3 separate regions of the Homo sapiens genome follow, and all the other regions are linked to region 3. The links are contacts of gene promoters, found by promoter capture Hi-C in blood cells and fetal thymus (Javierre and others, 2016). All regions are on one chromosome and are shown on one strand. The core of a region is centred on a gene start or on the middle of the fragment in contact, and the rest is flanking DNA. Distances in the headings are between cores, read along the strand shown.

Region 1 (2,856 bases), core at 290-2,789, 560 kb after region 3:
TGACGGCTGATGGGGATGGGGCAGTTGTGAGACAAAGAAGACATTGAACGGAAGGAAGGAGGGCAGGAGTTCTCCAGAGCCAGAGTCCGGTGGTCCTTAGGGAAATCTGTGGAGGGCCCCACACTGGCAGAGGCTGTGATTTTGGGAAAGGAGTAGAAACTCTGGCTATTAAGTCTGGCATGTTCTTAATGGGACTCATACACCTCTTGGAATTTTAGAGCTCAAGGATTCAGAATTTGGATCTCATTGGTTCATTTTGCAGATGAGAAAACTGAGGCCTAGAGATGTCAGGGGCCTTGCCACATGGCAGGTTGGAGGCAGAACAGAGGGCAGAAGCCAGGAGGGGTTCTAGGCCTCTCCCTTGGCTCCCTGTCTAGTGCTATCTGTACACTCAGGAGCTCCATGAAGGAGGAAGCCATTTTTGATCCACACAGGAGGCAGGACAGTGGCCACAGCTCAAAGTTCTCAGAGCTTTGCCCTTGGAGTGACCCCAAGATGTCCCTGTGATCTCAGAGACTTACAGCTCTCAAATAGCACTAAAAGTGACGCCTGGCCTTGAGCGAGAGAAGGCAGTGCAGCTACCACAGTAGGGGAACCCCAGGAGAGGCAGCTTGGGAATGGGGAAGGGCATTGGCATGTGGGGGCAATTGCTGTGCCCCCCTTGGCCCTGCAGGCCTGGCAGTTAGGGACTGTTCTCCCAGGTGTAATGATTTTCATGGTGTCTTCCTTGAACACTGAGGGCTGCAAGGGGTCTTGTGGGGAAGTCTGTTCTATGGGTGGTTGATGGATGATGTCCCCAGCCGTGCATGCTCATGGATGGCTGGGGTGAGTGATTAAGAGTTACCAGGATTTGGTGCTGCTGGAATTGAGTTACCATGTCGCTCATGCTGACCAGGAGCTGCCCCACCACAGAGCCCAACTGTTCTGCCTCCTGCACCGCCCTCAGAGCATCAGAGAGCATAGCTGCCTGGCCGGGTATCCCGCAGCCCCAGGAAGGACGCCAGGCAGTTGCTGGATTGCACTCCCACTTCCCAGCTCTTCTTGCGCTTGTGGCCACCCTCTCTCGTCCTGTGCTTCGCTGTGTGTTGTTGGGTTGACCCCGCAGGGTCAGGGGCGCACTGCACTTCTGCAGGGCTTTGTGCACAGTGCCACAGTGCATGAGGCTATGGTGTGTTGCAGCCATATGGGATCCTCAAGCCCCCTGCTGAAGCAGATGTATGCGCAGACTCCACATACCTCATCCTCACCCGGAGTTCATGGGGACATCGAGAAATAGGAGCCAGAAGGGAAGGGAGCCCTGTCACCTTGTGAAGCTGCCACCATGGCAGCCCTAGAGATATAGCTGAGAAAGCTCCTCATTTTTTCTTACTCAATTTTTTTTCTCATCTCTTTATCTATAGGTAAGCTTGCTTAAAAGAACTTTGGGTGGCCTGGTAACTTCAGGACGCTTCGCCAATTACCAGAGGAAGTAAGGCTTGCCCAAAACCGAGCAAACCAGAACCAGTGGCCCCTGTCACCTTTAGATCATTAGCATATCATTATAATGCTAAAGTCCCCACTCATAGAAGAGAATCATAGAAGAGAATCGTTGCCACTTTCTGCACACGTGTCGTATGAAGAGCCTGTTCATGATCTGCACCTGCGTGTCTGAAGTTCCTCCCCACATAAGCTTACATAGCTCCTGCCCCACATCTAACCCTGTTACATTCCCCAGCTCCCCACCGCTCTGGAAGAAGCTGTCTTTAGAGCAAGTGCTCTCTCCTTCTCCATGCCTGGCCGGGAATAAAACCTGCTTTTCCTTTTCCCCAATCTGGTGATCTTTCTTTGTAGCTGATGCAGAGTAGAGAAAGAACTCAGTGAACTGGTGACGAAGCCAATTCCAGACTCCCAGCATCTGGGTCCTGTACTTGATCTGAGCTCTGCCATGCTCTTCTAAATTCTGTGTTTTGGTTTTACTGTGCATTTCAGCTATTTGAACAGTGTCTGTCTCTCCCCAATTTGAACTGTGACCTGCTTGCTTGCAGGGACCAAAACTGGACCGTCCTTGTCCAACTGAGAGCCCTCAGCTCTTGGTGGTGCACATGGGAGAAGCTCACAGGTTTCTTCTGAGTGTCATTGGAAAGAGGTGTGTGTGTGTGGGGTCACAGAGACAAATGAAGAGAACAGGAAGAGGGAGAGATGGAGGAGAGAAGAGGAAGGGAGGGTTTTACCAGCTCTTTGGAGACCACTGAGTGCACAGGGAGTGGTTGGGGATCCGTTATCAGCCAGGACTGTTTCTTGAGCATCTGAGCACTGCGACTCTGGAGTAATGGGCATGGCAGGAGCTATGAAGGCAAATGGCGAAGGCCGTGTTGGTGGGCTCTGTCCCTAAAGCTGTTAAATTAAGATGCTCTGGACGCTATGGCTCTGCTACCTACTAGCTGGTGGCCTCGGGTGAGCTTCTGTCCTCCTGCTTATTTTCACACATGTACAGCAAGGGCAAGAGCATTCACTGCTGCAGGTTGTAGGGTCAGTAGTCACAGCTGTGTTGGCATTTCTGGCCTAAACATTAGTACCGAGACAGAAGCGAATCCCGGATTCCCAAGAACCCTGCCCTCTAAGCACTTCGTGTGTCTGCAGCCCCTGCCTGACAGCATCCAGCGTTCCAAGTGAGCTCTCCTGAAGTTGAGGCCAGCGGCTTCTTAGGGAGAAGATGTGACCAGCACTGCCCAGATAGCCTGCTGCCCTGTCCAAACCTCTGAGGGTCCTTCGGGATGCAGGGCCAAGAGTGGGTGCTCCTTGTGCTTGTTCAATCTTGTGCTTGTTCTGCAAGAGTTGATGACTGGCTGCCAGGAGGGAGGCAGTGGGGACGACCTT
Region 2 (2,873 bases), core at 273-2,772, 580 kb before region 3:
AAAAGAAGACATTAAAGTAGTATATTGATATTCTTATATATTGATATATACAAGAATATACATTCTAAGTATGTATGTTTTGAAATTTTGTGGTGATCTGATGAGTGACTTTGAGTCTCAAATTTAGAGTTTCTAATAATTCTGGATTAAACAAAATGTGAAGGGAGTTAATCTTGAAAGCAAAAGAAAAATAACTCATCCATACAAGGAAATGACTTTATGATTAACACCTGACTTTTCATCAGAAACAATGGTAGTCAGAACACAATGGGATAGCACATCCAAAGTGCTGAAAGAAAAAATAAGTGTTTTGTTCTGTTTATCTTACCAAAGTGGTAATGTGTGTAGGATTTATATGTAAAGGGAAAAAACTTTAAGAGGAATTAGACATAGTCAATGGAAAGAATATGACCAATAATGTGTTCTAGGTCTGGCTTGGTTAGATATAACATGTTTAACTTTGGATAATTCATGAATCCTTTGCAAATCTTTCTTTGCCTCCGATATATCTCGGCTGGAGTCAACACTAAAAACTTGAACTCCATATATTGTGTATATCTGTTATTTCAAGTTAGTATATTTTATGTTTCCTTCTTGATGGAAGCTTGTCTTATTTTGTTCTCTACAGTCTGTATTTTTTTCTTTTCATAATTCTGTAGCAATCGTGTTCCAAATATAAAAATAATTCTTTTGTGCTGTGTGAAAATATGTGTTCTTTTATTTAAGCTTCCAGACGAATGTGTTATTTCAAGTGGGAGACTATGATTTTTCTCTAAAGATGATGGGTAGGGTTTTGTTGTTGTTGTTGCCGTTTGTTTGTTTGTCTAACTTTACTAGTAGGTAGATTATTTGAATGACTGATCTCATTAACCATCTCTCCTGCTAAGTCTGTCTCCTTTTCCTTCTAAATCTATCTCCTTTCCTTCAAGTCTTTCATCTGAGTGACATTAGAAATTCTCAATACAACTGGTATTGTGCCCAGCTAAATCCATCTGATTTTTACTTTTAAAAATGGCAAGTTGATGTAACATTTCATTATACTATATACAAGAGAAAAATCAGAGCAAAATGTAATTGACAGTTTTCTGAGTTTCTTTAGTCTTAAGTTTTGAAATTGTTTTTATCTATTTTTATTTATTTATTTATTTTTTACAGACAGGGTCTCACTCTGTCACCCAGGGTGGAGTGCAGTGGTGCAATTATGGCTCACTGTAGTCTTGATCTCCTGGGCTCAAGCAGTCCTCCCAACTCAGCTCCCAAGTAGCTAGAACTACAGGTGTGTGCTTTATAATAAAACACATTATTATAAAAACACCCAGCTTTATTTTTTATTAAAGAAAAAAATTTGTAGACATTGGCTTTCATTATGTTGCTCTGGCTGGTCTTGAACTTCCAGCCTCAAGTGATCCTCCCACCTTTGCCTCCCAAAGTGCTGGGATTAAAAGTGTGAACCACCTCATGTAACTTTTTTTTTTTAATTATCATTATAATACTTGATAAAATAAAATAAACAAACTAAAACAAACATCTGAAAATGATGCTAACGTAGTTGGGTGCTGGCTTTAAAAAGTCCATTATGTCTTTTGTCAATTATATTAGTTTTCTAAGGTGGCACTTAAACACATGCACACACACACAGACTGGGTGGCTTAAACAACCGATATTTATTTTCCCACAGTTCTAGAGGCTGTAAATCCAAGGTCAAAGTGCTCCTCTGAGGACCATGATGGAAGGATCTGTTCTAGGCCTCTCTTCTTGGCTTATAGATGGTTGCCTTCTCACAGCTCTATCTTCACACAGTTGTACTTCTGTGCATACATGTAGCTGATTTTTACCCCTTTCTAAATTTTATTTTATATGGACACCATTTTTTTGGATTAGGACCCACCCCGAGGGCCTCATTTTAAATGAATTCTTATTTAAAACATCCCAATATGGTTACTTTCAGAAATACTAGGCTTTAGAATTTCACCATATGAATTTTGGGAGAGAGGAGCACAGTTCAGCCCATAACTAACACACGGTAAGTAACTATTGACCAGGTTACTCATGTTACTCAAAAGAGATAATTCACTTTGTTAATATGAAGCAATTTTTTTCCTCAGTAGGTGTAAGAGTGTGTGTCAAACAGAAGTAGCATTTTAACATATAAGAGACATAGCTGAGCTCTAAATATAGGAGACAGTATGATAATGTTTTACATTTCAAATTCTCTGCCTGCATTAGAATATTTTTGCAGAATGTGTAAAACAATCTAATGAATTGATTGGGATGTGCAGGAACAAGAAATATGGTTGTGATTTTTGCATAAAGCTTTTATATAGTTCCTTTAAAAATATAATTATCTCATTTACCTATTTCCTTAAGGCAATGGGTATATTTTGTTTTATTATTTTTGATCCCGATTTTTCTGACTATGGTTCACAAAAAACCATAAGATAAAGTACCATCCTGTACCTTATCTTCATGCAACAGTTTTTTTTTCTGCTAAATTAATATTTTGTATATTTTTATTTTGTATATATTTGGTATAATTCTGTTAATATTTTATATATTTCATATATTTGTATATGAAATGCGGATGCTTTAGACAACATGAAAATATCTTTGAACATTCATATTTTACCAAGGAAGAAAGATAAGCAAAGCACATGATTAATAGATTTTAGAATTAACTGGTAAGTTACACCAGTTTCAATTTCCCAGAAGTCTAATATATATCCCTGCATTCTTATCGTGAAATATACAGTAACAAGGAAAGAAATTAATATATTAAAGTATCTTAATCTATCCAATTAAATGGTATTTGAAAAAGACTTTAATGCTCTGTCTTTTGACATTGAAATAAAGTGATTTTATCTTGAAATTCCGTA
Region 3 (2,883 bases), core at 219-2,718:
AATGAATATTTTAGGATTTCCAGCCACGTGGTCTCGCTTACAATTACTCAACTCTGTCTGCTTCTGTATGGCAACAGCAGCCACAGACGATACAGAAATGAATGTGTGCGCTGTGTTCTAATGCAACTATGGGCACTAAAATTTCTTGATTTTCATGTGTAACAAAACACTGTTATTTTGATTTTTTAAATCCATTTACAAATGTAAAAATCACCCTTAGCCAGGCGCGGTGGCTCACGCCTGTAATCCCAGCTCTTTGGGAGGCCAAGACGGGTGGATCACGAAGTCAGGAGTTCGAGAACCAGCCTGGCCAACATGGTGAAACTCCGTCTCTACTAAAAATACAAAAATTAGCCGGGGGGTGGTGGCATGCGCCTGTAATCCCAGCTACTCAGGAGGCTGAAGCCGGAGAATTGCTTGAACCCGGGAGGCGGAGGTTGCAGTGAGCCAAGATCGTGCCACTACACGCCAGACTGGGTGACAGAGCAAGACTCCATCTCGAAAATAAAAATAAAAATAAATTAAAAAATAAAAAAAACCACTTAGCTCACTGGCTAAACAAAATCAGGTAATTGGCCTGTACCTGACAGTCAATTTCTGGTCACTAATGATGACCACATATCCAAATTACAGTAAAGGTACCCAAGAGAGACAAAGATTAGAGATTAGTGTTACGATCCCCGTTCTGCCAGCACTAGGAGACAAGAGTTGCTACAGCCCTTCCGCGGGTTTAAAAGGCGGTCGACGTCCCTCAACCTCTTGCTATGCCTGAAAACAACCGAGTAAAAGGCATCCAAAGACCTGAGAACGCAAGGTTTCAGGAAAACAATCAGGAAGGGCAAAACATGGGGCAGCCACTACACAGCCCCTCCGTCTTAGGGCACAGGTACTAAACGGGTTGTAAGAGACCCAAGTCACATCCTTCAGAAACGTGCTGGCGCGGGCCCAGGCAGACAGGGATTCCACCCCGGCGAAGGCCGCAAATGGCGCGAGGCGGGAAGGCGCAGGCTCCACCTTCCCCCGTCCCCAGATCACCTACAGTGACCTGCGCGTACAGGCAGGCTAGGACCGCGGGCGCTCAAGGCAGACATCAGGCCCGCCGACGTCTCCGCGCCGCCCGCCCGGCCACCCGGAGAGCCTGCTGCCCAGCGCCTGGCAGCGCGGACAACCTCTCTCGGGGAGGTGATGACGGTCCCTCGCGCCGGAGGGCCCAGGGAGGAAAGAGATAAGCAGAAAGACACCAGGGAAGAACACCACGCTTCGGACCAACGCCAGCCACAGCCACTGAGAAGTCGCCGCATCCGGCGGCGCCGACACACGTTTCCAGGGCTCTTGAGAGACCATACCCTGGGAGTCTCGCGGGATCTCACTTTTCTCGGCGGCGCAGGGAATGAGACAGATCGCGGGAATTCCACCCGCGCCGGGAGATGGTCTGGTGACTTCGCGGCTCCTCCCACGTCTCTCTGGGCAGTCCGCCTTGCGCATGCGCAGGCGGCGGTGGCAAGGCTACGGTTCGCGCCAGCGGCCGGCGCTATGGGGCTGAGCCGCGTGCGGGCGGTTTTCTTTGACTTGGACAACACTCTCATCGACACGGCCGGGGCGAGCAGGAGAGGCATGTTGGAGGTAACGTCCCCACCCATGGCGCTCCTCTGGGCGGGGTCAGTGCGCCCCGCCCCGTCCTGCACGCTCACCTCCCCTTGACCCCACTTCCACCCCGGCGCCGCGGGCCGCTCTTGCTGGTTGAAACCTGTGGAGCGTGCGGGTGCGGAGGTGGCTGGAGGCGCGCGGGCCCTGCGGGTCTGCTTTCCCTGGCCTGGCGGCCGCTTGTCACCCAATCTCGAGCCCTGGAGCGGCTGCTCGCAGGTGCCTTGGCGCTCGGGACGCGGAAGGGCTCCGTGACGGCTGCCACGGTGGCGGAGGTGCCCGTGGGCGCGGGAGGCGACAGCAAAGCCGCGAGACCAGGCGCTGGTCCCGCCCCCGGTCAGACTGTCGGTGTGGAGCTCGACAGAGGGTCGTGTCCCCCATGCGACTTTCGGGGTTGCTGGGAGGAGACATGGTAGAGTTAGCCCCAGTGTTGACCCAAGAAGGGACACGGCTGTCAGTACCGAGCCTGGACTTAAGCCCTGCTTTAGAGAATTGTCGCCGCAGAACTTCTTCTGGCCTCCCTGGCGGGGTGGTGGTCACCGTGGCTTTCTGACACGTGACACAGCAAAAGCCCGTGCTGCGAGGGCATGCCCTTCCTGAGGCGCTCCTCCGCGGCACTGCCCCTCTACACGCGCGGAGGCGCTTTCAGACCTTCCCGTGTTCCAGCCCCAGTCCACCCCGGCTTCCCTTTCTCTACCTTCAGCTTCAAGGGGAAAGGGAAGGATTTATCAGATGTGGAAAACTCACTTTCAAAAGCTAATTCATCCAAACCTGAGCGCCCCGTCCTCTTCATGCTTCATCAGTTAGTTTTTGTGTCCCTGGATCTTCCACTACCTCATCCGTTTTCTTTTTAGCTGCATTCCACTCCTGCCGCATATTCATGTTTGCCCTATAGTTTTAAAAAAGCTGTAAAAAGGATGCCTCCCTTTGGGCTATTCTTCCTGCTGTAGATGTTGCCTGTCTCTCTTGACAGCCATGTTTTCCCGGAGAAATCTATACCCGTTATCTCCTTGTCTCTACCTCCTATTTATTACTAAATCCATCGTAATGTCGCTTTATCTTCACCGCTAGACTGAAATAGACTTGCTGGATCACTAGGCATTCCCAAAATGCCGGAATCAGTAGACATTTTTAAAGTCTGTCTTCATGACTTTACTGAGGCATTCCACACTTTTAACTTGTTGGCCTCCACCTCAGGGGTGCCACCCTGTGCCATATTGCCTCCAGTATCTCTCGCTG

What was found. Contacts are between HindIII fragments. The CHiCAGO score rates a contact against its expected background, and 5 or more counts as called.
Region 1: a contact is called between a fragment that was not itself captured here and the fragment with the promoter of NANP in region 3, in 3 of 17 cell types (total B cells, monocytes and erythroblasts). The highest score is 8.7, in total B cells.
Region 2: a fragment that was not itself captured here is called in contact with the fragment with the promoter of NANP in region 3 in 1 of 17 cell types (activated CD4 T cells); the score reaches 5.0 in activated CD4 T cells.

The regions. Positions count from the first base shown.
Region 1 is chr20:25,061,915-25,064,770 of GRCh38, reverse strand. LOC124904882 (a long non-coding RNA gene) reads left to right here. Exons shown (of 2, transcript XR_007067555.1): 2 at 1,401-1,809. Among named protein-coding and RNA genes, the nearest start is that of ACSS1, 5.2 kb to the right of the region's middle. The HindIII fragment of the contact is 264 bases long and covers 1,408-1,671 here.
Region 2 is chr20:26,198,599-26,201,471 of GRCh38, reverse strand. MIR663AHG (MIR663A host gene) reads left to right here. Exons shown (of 5, transcript NR_040095.1): 2 at 1,949-2,023. Among named protein-coding and RNA genes, the nearest start is that of MIR663A, 8.2 kb to the left of the region's middle. The HindIII fragment of the contact is 1,587 bases long and covers 729-2,315 here.
Region 3 is chr20:25,622,599-25,625,481 of GRCh38, reverse strand. NANP (N-acetylneuraminic acid phosphatase) reads left to right here and starts at 1,468. Exons shown (of 2, transcript NM_152667.3): 1 at 1,468-1,623. The coding sequence starts at 1,534. It overlaps ZNF337-AS1 (ZNF337 antisense RNA 1), which reads right to left and starts at 1,437. Exons shown (of 4, transcript NR_126465.1): 1 at 1,347-1,437. RefSeq lists enhancers at 1,379-1,548, 1,520-2,195 and a silencer at 1,719-1,778. The HindIII fragment of the contact is 6,234 bases long and covers 1-2,883 here.